2 separate regions of the Homo sapiens genome follow, and region 1 is linked to region 2. The links are contacts of gene promoters, found by promoter capture Hi-C in blood cells and fetal thymus (Javierre and others, 2016). All regions are on one chromosome and are shown on one strand. Each heading gives the region's core, a stretch centred on a gene start or on the middle of the fragment in contact. The rest is flanking DNA. Distances are from core to core; before and after follow the strand shown. Region 1 has its middle 110 kb from the start of LINC02181. Region 2 holds the start of FOXC2 (forkhead box C2).

Evidence for each region. The method cuts DNA at HindIII sites, captures the fragments that hold promoters and counts their contacts. A CHiCAGO score of 5 or more calls a contact.
Region 1: a contact is called between a fragment that was not itself captured here and the fragment with the promoter of FOXC2 in region 2, in 1 of 17 cell types (endothelial precursors). The highest score is 6.2, in endothelial precursors.

The regions. Positions count from the first base shown.
Region 1 is chr16:86,944,434-86,951,087 of GRCh38, forward strand. No RefSeq gene overlaps it. Among named protein-coding and RNA genes, the nearest start is that of LINC02181, 110 kb to the right of the region's middle. The HindIII fragment of the contact is 1,649 bases long and covers 1,880-3,528 here.
Region 2 is chr16:86,561,855-86,569,224 of GRCh38, forward strand. FOXC2 (forkhead box C2) reads left to right here and starts at 4,975. Exons shown (of 1, transcript NM_005251.3): 1 at 4,975-7,370. The coding sequence starts at 5,482. The coding sequence ends at 6,987. It overlaps FOXC2-AS1 (FOXC2 antisense RNA 1), which reads right to left and starts at 5,907. Exons shown (of 2, transcript NR_125795.1): 1 at 5,763-5,907; 2 at 3,291-3,464. RefSeq lists enhancers at 5,110-5,694, 5,695-6,278. The HindIII fragment of the contact is 11,287 bases long and covers 1-7,370 here.

The DNA.
Region 1 (6,654 bases), core at 1,454-3,953, 380 kb after region 2:
CATGAATTTATTCTCATTCTGCATCCAGCCTTTTGAGTGATAATAATAATAATAGCCCATATTTACCGACTCTTGTTTTGGCTGGGTGTCCCCCAAAGCAAACCTACAGACAAGGGATTTAGGGACCTGGGCCCAAGTGAATTACTTTGGAGGTAAATTTAGAAAGTACCAGGAGGGGAATGGGGAAATGAGGCCCAGAGGTGAGAAAGCCAACCATGAATGGGTGGTAGCAGGGTGACTGGACTCTGGTCTGTTGGGACCCTTTATAGAGGCCTGTGGAAGATGCCTCAGAATTATCTTCCCAAGAAACACACGCAGGGGTGTTTCCCATCTACTCCATCCCTCCTCGGGGGGCTGCTCTGAGGACATTGATTCCCTGCACAGCCCAAGGATGCTCTTTCAGCCTAGAAAGTTCTCTGGTGGAGGGAGGCAAGTGCTGAAAGAAGGAAGCTATGAGTGGGCTCAGGAATGATCCACCAAAGTTTCTGGCCTCTGGGGAGGCTGAGGGGGAATCTGGCCACTCCAGGTTTGCCACAAATGTTTTTGTCTGTGCCAGGAACACTGCCAGGGACTTTGCAGTCATCTCCTGTTCTGATTTTACCTTAACCCTCCCAAGAGGCAGTATCTATTGCCCACCAGTCTTATCACCATTTTAAATAGGAGAAACTGAGATTCAGGGAAGTGAAGGAGTTTGCCGGTGGTCATTCTGAGCAGCTGGAAAGAGAGACCTTGAAACCCATTTATCTGTCTGATTCCAAATCCCAGACCCTAACCGCGGTGTGGGGGCTTCCAGAAAAGCAAGCCCGAGGAAAGGGTCTGGATGCCACCCCATGGGGGCCATGTCGGGTAGGTGGTAGCCGCAGAGGAAAAGCTGAGTCACTGCACCTGAAATTCTGCTGATCGGACCCATCCGCACACTTTTAGGAAAAACAAGCCACTCTCTTTGATCAATGTCCAGGGCCATGATGGGCTCAGGTTCAAAAACAACACATCCCTAAAGTGTGGAAGCCCTTTGGGTTCTGGGAAAGTGGGAGAATGGATTTGCTCTTCCTGAAGTTTATTCAAGGTTTCCTCCTCACTGGGTTGCCCAAGCCTCCTTGGGAGAGGCAGCGTGGCAGCAGACCCCTCAACCACGCCAACACGGCAGGGCTCAGGGCAAGGACGGACGGCGCCAGCCCCGTCAGCACATGGCAGGATGCAGACCTTTCAGGAGAGACCTTGAGGAAGCACGGAGTCCAGAGGAAGGCCTCAGTTTCCCTGCAGGTGCACCCTTTGGGTGGCCACGGGCCGAGAGCTGTTCTAACCATGCGTGTGTGTTCCGCAGCTTCCAGCAGCACCAGCACTGTGAAATACCCAATCAAACAAGTCCAGCCGAGTTTAGGGCATACCCTCATTATCACAGTAAACGTCAGCATTGTATTCAGCCAAGAAAAGAACGACCTATGGGATTCTTTCTTTCCATAGTCACTTAAACTCTTCCAAATTTTTAAATACTTTCTGAAATTTTTCCTAGATCTTTTTATCACATACCTGTGCAACCAAAGTTTCACATCGATAGTGACTTCAAGATTTTGAAGAGGGACGTTCACATGTCAGCCAAGAATTGCACATAGCTATTTCCAGCATAAAACCTGACTTCCTTTAAGAAAGCTATGTTTGGGGAGGTGGTGGGTAAAAGGAGTGACTTCTAACAAGCATGGTTTTTCGGGGGCGATGATGAAAATGTTCTAAAATTGATTATTGTGATAGTTGCATAAATCTGTGAGGACACTAAAATCACTGAACTGGAAACTTTCCATGGCTGAATTCTACGGTAGATTAATTACACCTCAATAAGACTGTTATGAAAAAGAAAGTTACATTCACAGAAGTACGCTAAAGCTTCTCATTAACATTTTTGAAATGATTCATTTGGGCACTGCCTATTCAAATATAAAGTCATTTATTATTTATTTCATGTAAATGAAAATAGAATTAGCATCCTATTTTCCTGTAATTATTTTACAGAAAGGAAACAGGGACGCCCCCAAATCCTCTGCTTACCCCACCACCGTGCATACAGATATGGTTATCGTGTATGTGTCACCCTGCAGGAATGATGGGAATGTCCTGAAATAAAGTCCTTTGGTCCTCTATACAGGACAGCCAAGGAGATGGAAAGATCAGATGACACTGAAAATATTCACGGCCAGCCTGGCTGGGGCCTGGGCAGTCAGAACAAACACCCCTGGAGGCATTGGGCCCCAGCAGGTACCCTCGGGTGAGTAAGGGCTGCAGGTTAAACTGCTCAGGTTGGGGAAGCAAACTCCTCCCTCGCCTGACCCCCACCTCCCCAGACAGGCTGCTGCCTTCAGCCGCTTCCCTGTCTCTCTCCCTTTTCTGCTCCAAGGGGGGATTTTTTTTTAGCTTTTATTTTAGGCTCAGGGGTACACGAGCAGGTTTGTTATACAGGTAAATTGCCTGTCGCAGGGGTTTGGTGTGCAGACTGTTTCCCCACCCAGGTGATAAACATAGCATCCAGTAGTTTTTGGAATCTCACCCCCTCTCCCCCACACCATCAGGTGGGGGTCTGCAGCCCAGCTCAACTGCCGTGCCTGGGAAAGCTCTGCAGACCCCCTCCAGGCCTCATCATCTCCATCCTGCTGTGAGCAGCTAGGCTCCTGGCTTCTCCTGCCGCGTCCCCCAACATGCTGATGCTGCTGACGGTGTGTGCACCCTCCCGCTCCACCTGTTGGTCCAAACCAGCCCCATGTTCCCTCCTCCTGGTGTCCTTGGCCACCTCAGGATGAGGGAAGGGGCCAGGGGATTCTCTGCGTGGTCACTCGGTCACTCCGCAGACCTCGCCATCCAACACCCTCTGGCCTCCCAGAACTGCTCTGCTGGCCAGTGTGGCTAACGGGTGCTCCAAGGGCCATGCTCAGAACCACTGTCTTTGTCCTCAAGAGGATGGTGAAGGGTGAACACTTTCCCTTGAACATTTTCTTTGAAGACAACCTGTTGACGAGTTTACGGAGTGGCAAGTCCCAGCTATGGGAGGAGCTCTGGGGTCCACCAGGCCCAACCCGTCCTCTGCCTGCCACTTATGGACCCCTTCAACGAGCCAGGCACTGAGCTACCCGGCCACAGGTTTCTCTCATCTCCTCACAGCTGCCCTAGGAGAGGGTCTTGTTATCCTCATATGGGGAAACTGAGGCACAGGGGGAGAACTAGCTCACAGAACCAACTCCCGAGTGACAGAGGCAGGCTGAGAAACCTGCTGCCCGCTGCTAACCCATACTGAGCGTCCCGAGCCAGGACCCTCATCGTACACTTGCACACCCAGAGACACATCAAGCCACGGGCGTCCCCACCTGCACAAAGGTCAGTGCGTAGGGCTCAGATGGCAGAGATGGCTGCGAAGCCACAGCCCCTTCACCCACCTTCTCACCCTGCAACTGTGATGAGTTGCTGCGCTCTGTGTGTCTCAGTTTCCTCATCTGTACCCTGAAGATACTAGTACCTGCCATGCCATATCGTGTTACGAAAATAAGCTTCTGTGTGAAACATATTATGTATTTTAAAAACTTAGACTACGTGTCCAACACCATGACACGCTGCTGTGACAGCTACTGCTATTAGTGCCGCTGTTGCCTCTGCCCTGCCACTAGATAAGGTCCTTGTGGCCACGCCAGGAATGATACAGGGAAGCCCAGGAGCTCTGAAGCTCCTGCCCTTCACAGGAATTGAGCCCACTCAGCCACTCTGCTCCTGCTCCTGCTCCTGCTCCTGCTCCCACTCCCCGAGCTTCCACGGACAAATCCTGCCAGGAAAGGCTCTGCCCTGAGCACCTCCGCCCCCACCAACGCCACACATCTTCATGACGCCAGTCCTTCTAGGAGTTTCCGCATGTGCACCCAGGTGTACCTACGTACCCAGACATCTCTATCACCTGTGTGCATGCGTTATTTTCTGAGCTAAATTCCGGGACCAGCATTGGAGGGCGGTGAGCATATGCAGGTGAAAGAAGGAGGCTGGACTAGGAAATTTCCATCAGTTCCCAATGGAATCCTCTCTTTGAGCCCCCTAGGACTGACCATTCAGTGCTATCACCTGGAGGAAGAGGTGTGGAGGGAAGACGCCACCTTCTCCAGAAACACATGAGATGGACAAGCTCTCTCAGTGCTGGGTAGTTTCACGCACATTGCGTGTGTGCTGACTCAATCTCCCAAAAGGTTTACCTCAAAGGATGGAACCCAAAGACAGTTATTTCCATTTTCATCTCCATTTTACAGATGGGGAAACTGACAGCCATGGGGGAGACACTTTCCAAAGGTCAGGACAGTGCAGAGGGAGCAAAGCTGGCATGGAGAGCCCTCAGGCTGCTGCGGAGGCCCCGCGTTCAGCAGTGACATCACACTGCCTCTCTGACTTTTCTTTGCCAAAAGAAAGAATCCCAGGACCCAGAGAGGACCTTGGAGGTCCTCTAAGCAATTCCCTCCTCTCTGTTCTCAAACCACTTGGAGATGGGGAAACTGAGGCATGAGGGGCTAAGGGAAGTTTCTGAATCTACAAGGCAATCAGAGACCTTCTTTAACCAGGTACGCCTAGCTCCTGCCCTTTGAGTCAACAGCCTCTCTGATACTCTTAGAAACACAGCAGGAAGAAAAGTTCACGCAAGAAAGCAAGCCCATTTTTTCACTTTTTTGTGAGGAGAAGGATTTCATATAGGACGTCGCACAGTGAGTGCATCCACCATAGACGCACATGCATGCCCTCTCCCCGTCCAGGGAAGCAAGCAGCCAGCTCTAATGATAATACGTTTCCTGAGAACTTTCCACTCGCTCTGAAGCACTTCTAATTGTGTCTGGAGCCTTTCCTTCCTACCCCACAGGATGAGCCGGGACATGCCGCTCGCGAGTTTTCTCTCTTACACTGGCCTGGAGCTGTGCCAGGAGCCTTGGAGCCGAGTTGAAGGGGATTCCCAGCTCCCCACATCCCACCATCTCTCTGGGCTGCATTTTATCACCTGCAAAGTGGTGAGAGAGCAATACCTGCTTCCACGTGCAGGTGTTCCTGGAAGGATTCAGTGGATGGCGACTGCGGGTCATCCAGCTGCCACTGGTCCATGAGTACCAGCTGTTCTCACGGTGGTTCTGAAAGGGGTAGACAGAGGCAAATTGGTTCGTTTCTTCTTTGTTGTGAAGCCACGATTATCTTTTAAGGCACTCTGAGGATTAACAGCAACTACCTTCTCTTTCCTGAAGCCAAATACTTCTTCAAGAACACCTGGGGGTCTGGGCCAGCCTGTCCCCAGCTGGTTTCACAAGTCAGCAGGTGTCCCCAACCACCTCCTGGGGTTTCATGAACTAAGCCCACTTTAACCTACATACATTGTGATATCCTATTATATTACATAAAATGCTTGCATTGCATAATATTTCTATGTTATAAAATATACATACCTAATATAGAATATGCTAGATATTATATAATGTTTATAATATATGATATAACATAAGGAGGTGATGCCGTGATCAGGTACAACAGACAATCACACAGAAAGAACTTCAGGGAAAGGAGACGCCCTTGGCCTTGTGCTCGAGCCTTGGGCCTCAGAGGCCTTGAGTTATCATCTAGCCCTACCAGTTAAACCTCACCTCACCGAGCCTCAGTTTCCAGATCTGTCACATGAGAAACGAGGCCCTCATCATCACATATTGCAGGTTCAATGGGCATAGTTACCACACCAGTGGTGCATCCGGAGGGCATGCACAGCGGAAGGCATTGTTTGCCCTGGCTCATCTAAGTCCTCGGTAACTCCAGGAAGGAGTTATTCTATCAGTCCTTGATGTACAGGTGGGGAGCCAAGGCTGGGAGAGGTGGAATCTCCTATCCAAAGTCACGGGACTGTGGAGGGAAGGTTCTGAATCTTGAGTTCCCAAAGCCCATGTCCCCTATGTCTGTGTGCCCTGCCTTACAAAGTCAGGGCTGTAAGGCTCTTTATCTGACCTTCCAGTCCAGCAAGAACCAGCTCACAACACTCAGCCATGCTGCTGTGTCTTCTCCTCCCCACCCACTTCCACCTTCCACCAGAAATGATTTCCCAGTCACACTCTGAAAAGGAGTAGATGTGAGTTACAAGGTACCTCCCATCATTCCAGATATCAGTTCCTCATCATTCCCTGGGCCTCCCAAGAGGGATATCTGTGCTCTCTGCTCTCATGTCCTGCTGGGCCTCAGAATCTGGCAGCCCTTGTAGCTTAGAAGAGACAGTAAAAGACTCTGCTCTTTAGCAAATCTTATTTCACTGCACTAGAACCGTAAGTCCCATGACCCAGTCCTCTTCATCTTAGTGGCCACAGTATCCCCAGGATCCAGCACTGTGCCTGGCATGAAGCCAGGAGGTACTAAACATATATGCAGGCTTCAGCATCAGACAGACCTGCAGTAACTGTGCCTGACCACTTACTAATGGTGTGGCCCAGGCAGGTTACTTCACTCCTCCAAGCCTCGGTTTTTTTATCTGTAAAATGAGGACAATTTAACAGCATAGCATCTGGCTCACTGGGTGTCTGAGAGACTTAAATAGAATGTATAGGGGACTTAGCACAGCGCTCAATGAATGATAGCTATCATGATCACCATAACCATGACAATCATCACCATCATGATCCC
Region 2 (7,370 bases), core at 3,725-6,224:
GAATTATTGTGATGAACTCCATAGCTATTGATGGTAGTTTTCCAGAAACTTCCAGTAAAGGAGGAGAGCAGACGCTGGACTAAGTTAGGCCCTCGCTAAACATTTTGCAAATTCCTTCCATGGAAATACCTTCCTTTACTGTCACATTTCTTTTCAAATTTTCACAGTAACAAAAGTGTTTTACTCCCATTTTTTATTTTGAAAAATTTCAAATTTACAGAATTGCAAGAACAATACAATCAATACCCAGGCACCACGGGTTCAACAACTGTTCTCATCTTACTACCTTTGCACGACCTTCTGCCCTCCTTCTCCCCTCTGACCCCACCTTGGTTGAATCTTTTGAATCTTCTCCTTCTTCTTCTTCTTTTTGAGACAGGGTCTTGCTCTGTCACCCAGGCAGGAATGTAGTGGTGCAATCATGGCTTACTGCAGCCTCAACCTCCCAGGCCCAAGTAATTCTCTGCCTCTGCCTCCCACATAGCTGGCACTACAGGTGCTCAGCACCACACCCGGCTTTTTTTTTTTTTTTTTTTTTTTTGTATTTTTTATAGAGATAGGGTCTCACTGTGTTGCCCAGGCTGGTCTTGAAACCCTGAGCTCAAGCGATCCTCCCACCTCAGCCTCCCAAACTGCTGGGATTACAGGCATGAGCCACCATGCCCGGCAGGGTGAATTTTTTAAAGGTTGCAGAGATGATGAATATCAGCCCCAAACATTTTGACACGTACCTTCTAAAAGCAAGGACATGCTCTTACTTGACCATGTATAATTATCGCACGCAAGAATCTTACCCTTGATTCAAGGTTATTATCTCATACACATCCCAGATGCAAATCTTCCCAAGTCTCCTCAAACCTGTCCTTGGTTGCTGTTTAAAATATCCCAGCACTTTGGGAGGCCGAGGCGGGCGAATCACGAGGTCAGGAGATCCAGACCATCCTGGCTAACACGGTGAAACCCCGTCTCTACTAAAAATACAAAAAATTAGCCGGGTGTGGTGGCGCACGCCTGTAGTCCCAGCTACTCGGGAGGCTGAGGCAGGAGAATGGCGTGAACCCGGGAGGCGGAGCCTGCAGTGAGCGGAGATCGTGCCACTGCACTCCAGCGTGGGCGACAGAGCAAGACTCCGTCTCAACAACAACAGGAAAAAAAGAAAAAAGAAAAAAAAATTTCTTCCGCCTAGGATTGAGGGTTGCGTTTACTTGTTGAGTTTCTTTAATCCTTGTGACCAACAGCAGTTCTCACTACCCACCCGCTTCTGTAGTCCTTTCTGGCCCTGCCCTTTGTCGATGGCGCAGCATGGCTTTCACTCACCGGAAAACTCACACACAGTAAAATGAGCTTGAACTGAGTTTTAGAAAAGACACTTTTTTTGTCCCACAAAAGTTTAGAAGCCGGATTACAATGGATTTTTAGGAGGTGGCGCCGACTTTGTGTAACCCAAGGGCTCCTCGGTTCTCAGGCAGCTTCTGGAAGCCTGGGACTCCTCTGCCACCCGATCCCTTTCCTCAAAACCAAGGCACCTCGTGACCCCAGAAAAGAAATGTTTGAAGGATATTGAAATGAATGAATGGGAAATAGTGAGACAAGAAACAAAACTCCTTTCACTTGTCCCCTCTTTGAGTTCTCTGTTGTACCTCAAAAGTAGAAGTGGCTGCTGCCCAGTTTCAAAGTCTGCCTCTTGTTCAAGCCAACCCTCTAAACACACGACCAGCACAAACAGCTTTCTGATGAATTCCCTGAAGCTCACGCCACACCTCGGGCAGAAAGACAGCTGCAGCGGGAAAACATGGACGAGGCAATTTGTTCAACAACTCCGGGGGAAGAAAATGCAGACTTCTAGCCACCTAAGAGGCATAGATTTTATTTGGGGAAAACCCCAGCAAGTTTCCCTAGAGAAAATTTCTTGCTCCCCGAGCAGTTTCAAAGACATTTTTGTTTCCCAACAGATCATGTTCTTGACACGTTGCGAAGTTACGGGAAATGTTTTTTAATCGACGCGATGCAGTTTATCTCCTTTCTCTGCTTTTACAGATTTCTGAAGGCTCCATTCCAGCCGTGCAATGCCCAGGAGTATCCACAAGGTGTCAGCACCTTCATGATAAGCAGGGCGGGCCGGGCGGTCTTTTTCTTTTTCCTTTTCTCGTAGTAGTTCCCTGGTTGGCCTCAAGATGACGCCAACACCCACGGAGTCCGCCCAGCCGCTCCAGGTGCAGCGGCCACGGGCCGGGAGGAGCGCAGCGCGGTGGGGGCGGAAGGCGAATTAAATACCTTTAGGCTTTATCGCCGCTTATTATTCCAGGAACACGCGAGGCCCTCTGGGACCCGATTCCGCGTTCGGCTCACTGACTTACAAGGTCAAGAAGGGGGAAAATCAGCCAGAAAGTAGCAGCCCCCCATCCGAAATACCCTGGCAGGTTAAAGAAAAGCTGGGAAATACGGTTTTTGCAAAGTCCAGGTGTATGGAAGGCGTTGTTTTAATAACCTGAACAAACATCTTTCCCGGAGTCCCACTGAGCAAACAAGAAACCTAATTCCAGGGGTAAAGGGAAGTGTCTCTCTCACCTTTTCTGTCTTGATGAGACGAATTTCTTTCCCCTCCCCTTTTCCTTTCTTTGGGGCGGGGGAGGGTGGATAATATATTGGGCGACTCGATTTAGGTGTTTGTTTGTTTGTTTGTTTGTTTCCCCAGATGACATTGGTTTAAACCGGGACACCCTTGTGAATACAAACGTAGGCAGCAACTGCCATTTTGGAATTTATTTTTTCATAGTCCTTAGCTATTTTAGGTTTTGCTGTGATAAAGCTGTTTCTCTCTCTCTCTCTCTCTCACACACACACACACACCCCTCGTAAAAGCAGAGTAAATAATATTCCTCCAGGAAGCCTACAGGCTGAGGAGTGTTTCTTGATCAATAGTTTGCATTTCCAGTAAAATCGTGACACGAACTCAGTGTGCCTGTCATGCGCTGCAGGAGAAGGGCACTTTTTGCTAGTCCTTTTTTTTTTTTAAGCTAGATGCGGAAATACTAGCTTATTAAAAATAATAAAGTCATGGTGGGAGTTTAGGGTTGGGGCAGAAAGCTCAAATCATTTGCCTGTGAGCTGAGAACTGGGCAGCTTTATTTTACTTTGTTTCAAAGAAAGAAGAAAAAGGATCAGGTTAGAAAAAGAGCCCAGAATACTCATAAAAACAATGTTTCAGAAGTGGAATATTCAAGGTAAAGGAACCTGATTTGTAGCTTCCCTTTGGCTTTGAATTGATCAGGAGACAAAGATAATGCATCTACATTTTCGTCTTCTGTTCTTTTATTGGAAATAAGTGGCACGCCCCATTGCCTTCTAGTCGCCTCCCCGAAGCGAAGAGGCCGAAGCGAAGAGGCCTGGTGGGTTGTCTCAACATCCTTTTGCTGAGAATCGAATACGCAGCCGATGAACAGCCAGGAAGGGTGCAAGGAAACCTGAAATACAAATGTTCTCCCTGAAGCCCTCTTCCCTGCCCAACCAGACCAGCAACTTCCAAAATTCTGCCCGTGTTTAGCCTTGTTAAAGGGGTGTCTCACTCCTTCAGGGAAAGTGGGAAAAGGGGATCTGATTATTGAGGTGTGGAAGGAATAAATAATCAGTCCACAAATAAACAAACTGTCCGGGATTCCTAGAGGGAAGGAGAAATCCTTGAAGGAGATCCAAGTCGCTCCAGGTCTGCCTGCCGAATAATATCATCCCGAAGGGATCTTGAACCGTTTGCAATCAACCGCTCACCCAGTCTTCCCACGGAGCGCGCTCCCTAACTCACCCTACCCACCCAACAAAACAAAAAAAAGGCTGAAATATAGAAAAGCAACTTGGAGGCTCCCAGGGGGACGTTGCCAGGAGCAGGAGGCAGGGACAGCGCCCTAGGGTCGGTGTTAGCGGCCGGCGCCGGCCTGGGCCACGGGAAACGTCCACGCTTGGTGCCCGCGGTGCGCGGCGCTCATTGCGCGCGCCTTCGAGCCAAGCCCCCGCGGAAAACAGGCTCGGGTTTCTCCTCGCAGGGCCCAGGAACTCGGCTCTGCCTGGCCCGGGTGGGTCGCTGCATTGTCCCGGTCTTCTGGGAGTGCGGGGTCAGCTTGTTAGAGGGAATTTCTACCTGGGAAAAGGGAGACGAGTTTCGAAGCTGAAGTTGGTAGGCTGCGAGTGTCCACGCGGGAGACGAAAGGGGGAAATAGCAGAGTCACTTCACCCTTTTCCCCAAACCCCACAAAACTGCTCGCAGCGACGCGGATGATCTACCGAATTCCCCGCGAATTCGGAGGATTAAGTTGTCAGTCAGCACGTTGCTACCTTCCCCTCTATGCACTCCGCTGCCTGGCTCCTCGGCGGGGAGCGAGGGAAACTCAGTTTGTAGGGTTTACCTCTAAAACCTCGATAGGTTATCCTTGACGACCCCGAGCCTGGAAACTCCCTGTTGATGATTAATTATTTGATTAAATAAGTATAACATCCAGGAGAGGCCCTGCCATTCCAATCCAGCGCGTTTGCTTTGAATCCATTACACCTGGGCCCCCATAATTAGGAAATCTAATTATTCGCTTCATCACTCATTAATAAGAAAAATGTCCCAGGATCATTGCTACTTACAAGGTCTTTGGGAGAGATATTTTACTCTATTAATCCATTCTATTTTATATTTCAAATTGATTTTTTTTAACAGAGGAAAGTGGCTATCTTTTTGTTTTGGGCATGTGGGCCCATTCACCAAAATGTGATCATAAAATAAATTTTAATAAGATATAACTTTTTAAAAAGTTTTCAAGTGAAGACGGAGTCGCCGCGGAGGCCGGGGCGGCGGGGTCTTAGAGCCGACGGATTCCTGCGCTCCTCGCCCCGATTGGCGCCGACTCCTCTCAGCTGCCGGGTGATTGGCTCAAAGTTCCGGGAGGGGGCGTGGCCCGAGGAAAGTAAAAACTCGCTTTCAGCAAGAAGACTTTTGAAACTTTTCCCAATCCCTAAAAGGGACTTGGCCTCTTTTTCTGGGCTCAGCGGGGCAGCCGCTCGGACCCCGGCGCGCTGACCCTCGGGGCTGCCGATTCGCTGGGGGCTTGGAGAGCCTCCTGCGCCCCTCCTCGCGCGGGCCGAGGGTCCACCTGGGTCCCCAGGCCGCGGCGTCTCCGCTGGGTCCGCGGCCGCCCGCCTGCCCGCGCTGCCGCCGCCGGGTCCTGGAGCCAGCGAGGAGCGGGGCCGGCGCTGCGCTTGCCCGGGGCGCGCCCTCCAGGATGCCGATCCGCCCGGTCCGCTGAAAGCGCGCGCCCCTGCTCGGCCCGAGCGCCGCCGCCCGCGCACCCTCGCCCCGGAGGCTGCCAGGAGCCCGGGGCCGCCCCTCCCGCTCCCCTCCTCTCCCCCTCTGGCTCTCTCGCGCTCTCTCGCTCTCAGGGCCCCCCTCGCTCCCCCGGCCGCAGTCCGTGCGCGAGGGCGCCGGCGAGCCGTCTCGGAAGCAGCATGCAGGCGCGCTACTCCGTGTCCGACCCCAACGCCCTGGGAGTGGTGCCCTACCTGAGCGAGCAGAATTACTACCGGGCTGCGGGCAGCTACGGCGGCATGGCCAGCCCCATGGGCGTCTATTCCGGCCACCCGGAGCAGTACAGCGCGGGGATGGGCCGCTCCTACGCGCCCTACCACCACCACCAGCCCGCGGCGCCTAAGGACCTGGTGAAGCCGCCCTACAGCTACATCGCGCTCATCACCATGGCCATCCAGAACGCGCCCGAGAAGAAGATCACCTTGAACGGCATCTACCAGTTCATCATGGACCGCTTCCCCTTCTACCGGGAGAACAAGCAGGGCTGGCAGAACAGCATCCGCCACAACCTCTCGCTCAACGAGTGCTTCGTCAAGGTGCCCCGCGACGACAAGAAGCCCGGCAAGGGCAGTTACTGGACCCTGGACCCGGACTCCTACAACATGTTCGAGAACGGCAGCTTCCTGCGGCGCCGGCGGCGCTTCAAAAAGAAGGACGTGTCCAAGGAGAAGGAGGAGCGGGCCCACCTCAAGGAGCCGCCCCCGGCGGCGTCCAAGGGCGCCCCGGCCACCCCCCACCTAGCGGACGCCCCCAAGGAGGCCGAGAAGAAGGTGGTGATCAAGAGCGAGGCGGCGTCCCCGGCGCTGCCGGTCATCACCAAGGTGGAGACGCTGAGCCCCGAGAGCGCGCTGCAGGGCAGCCCGCGCAGCGCGGCCTCCACGCCCGCCGGCTCCCCCGACGGCTCGCTGCCGGAGCACCACGCCGCGGCGCCCAACGGGCTGCCTGGCTTCAGCGTGGAGAACATCATGACCCTGCGAACGTCGCCGCCGGGCGGAGAGCTGAGCCCGGGGGCCGGACGCGCGGGCCTGGTGGTGCCGCCGCTGGCGCTGCCCTACGCCGCCGCGCCGCCCGCCGCCTACGGCCAGCCGTGCGCTCAGGGCCTGGAGGCCGGGGCCGCCGGGGGCTACCAGTGCAGCATGCGAGCGATGAGCCTGTACACCGGGGCCGAGCGGCCGGCGCACATGTGCGTCCCGCCCGCCCTGGACGAGGCCCTCTCGGACCACCCGAGCGGCCCCACGTCGCCCCTGAGCGCTCTCAACCTCGCCGCCGGCCAGGAGGGCGCGCTCGCCGCCACGGGCCACCACCACCAGCACCACGGCCACCACCACCCGCAGGCGCCGCCGCCCCCGCCGGCTCCCCAGCCCCAGCCGACGCCGCAGCCCGGGGCCGCCGCGGCGCAGGCGGCCTCCTGGTATCTCAACCACAGCGGGGACCTGAACCACCTCCCCGGCCACACGTTCGCGGCCCAGCAGCAAACTTTCCCCAACGTGCGGGAGATGTTCAACTCCCACCGGCTGGGGATTGAGAACTCGACCCTCGGGGAGTCCCAGGTGAGTGGCAATGCCAGCTGCCAGCTGCCCTACAGATCCACGCCGCCTCTCTATCGCCACGCAGCCCCCTACTCCTACGACTGCACGAAATACTGACGTGTCCCGGGACCTCCCCTCCCCGGCCCGCTCCGGCTTCGCTTCCCAGCCCCGACCCAACCAGACAATTAAGGGGCTGCAGAGACGCAAAAAAGAAACAAAACATGTCCACCAACCTTTTCTCAGACCCGGGAGCAGAGAGCGGGCACGCTAGCCCCCAGCCGTCTGTGAAGAGCGCAGGTAACTTTAATTCGCCGCCCCGTTTCTGGGATCCCAGGAAACCCCTCCAAAGGGACGCAGCCCAACAAAATGAGTATTGATCTTAAAATCCCCCTCCCCTACCAGGACGGCTGTGCTGTGCTCGACCTGAGCTTTCAAAAGTTAAGTTATGGACCAAATCCCATAGCGAGCCCCTAGTGACTTTCTGTAGGGGTCCCCATAGG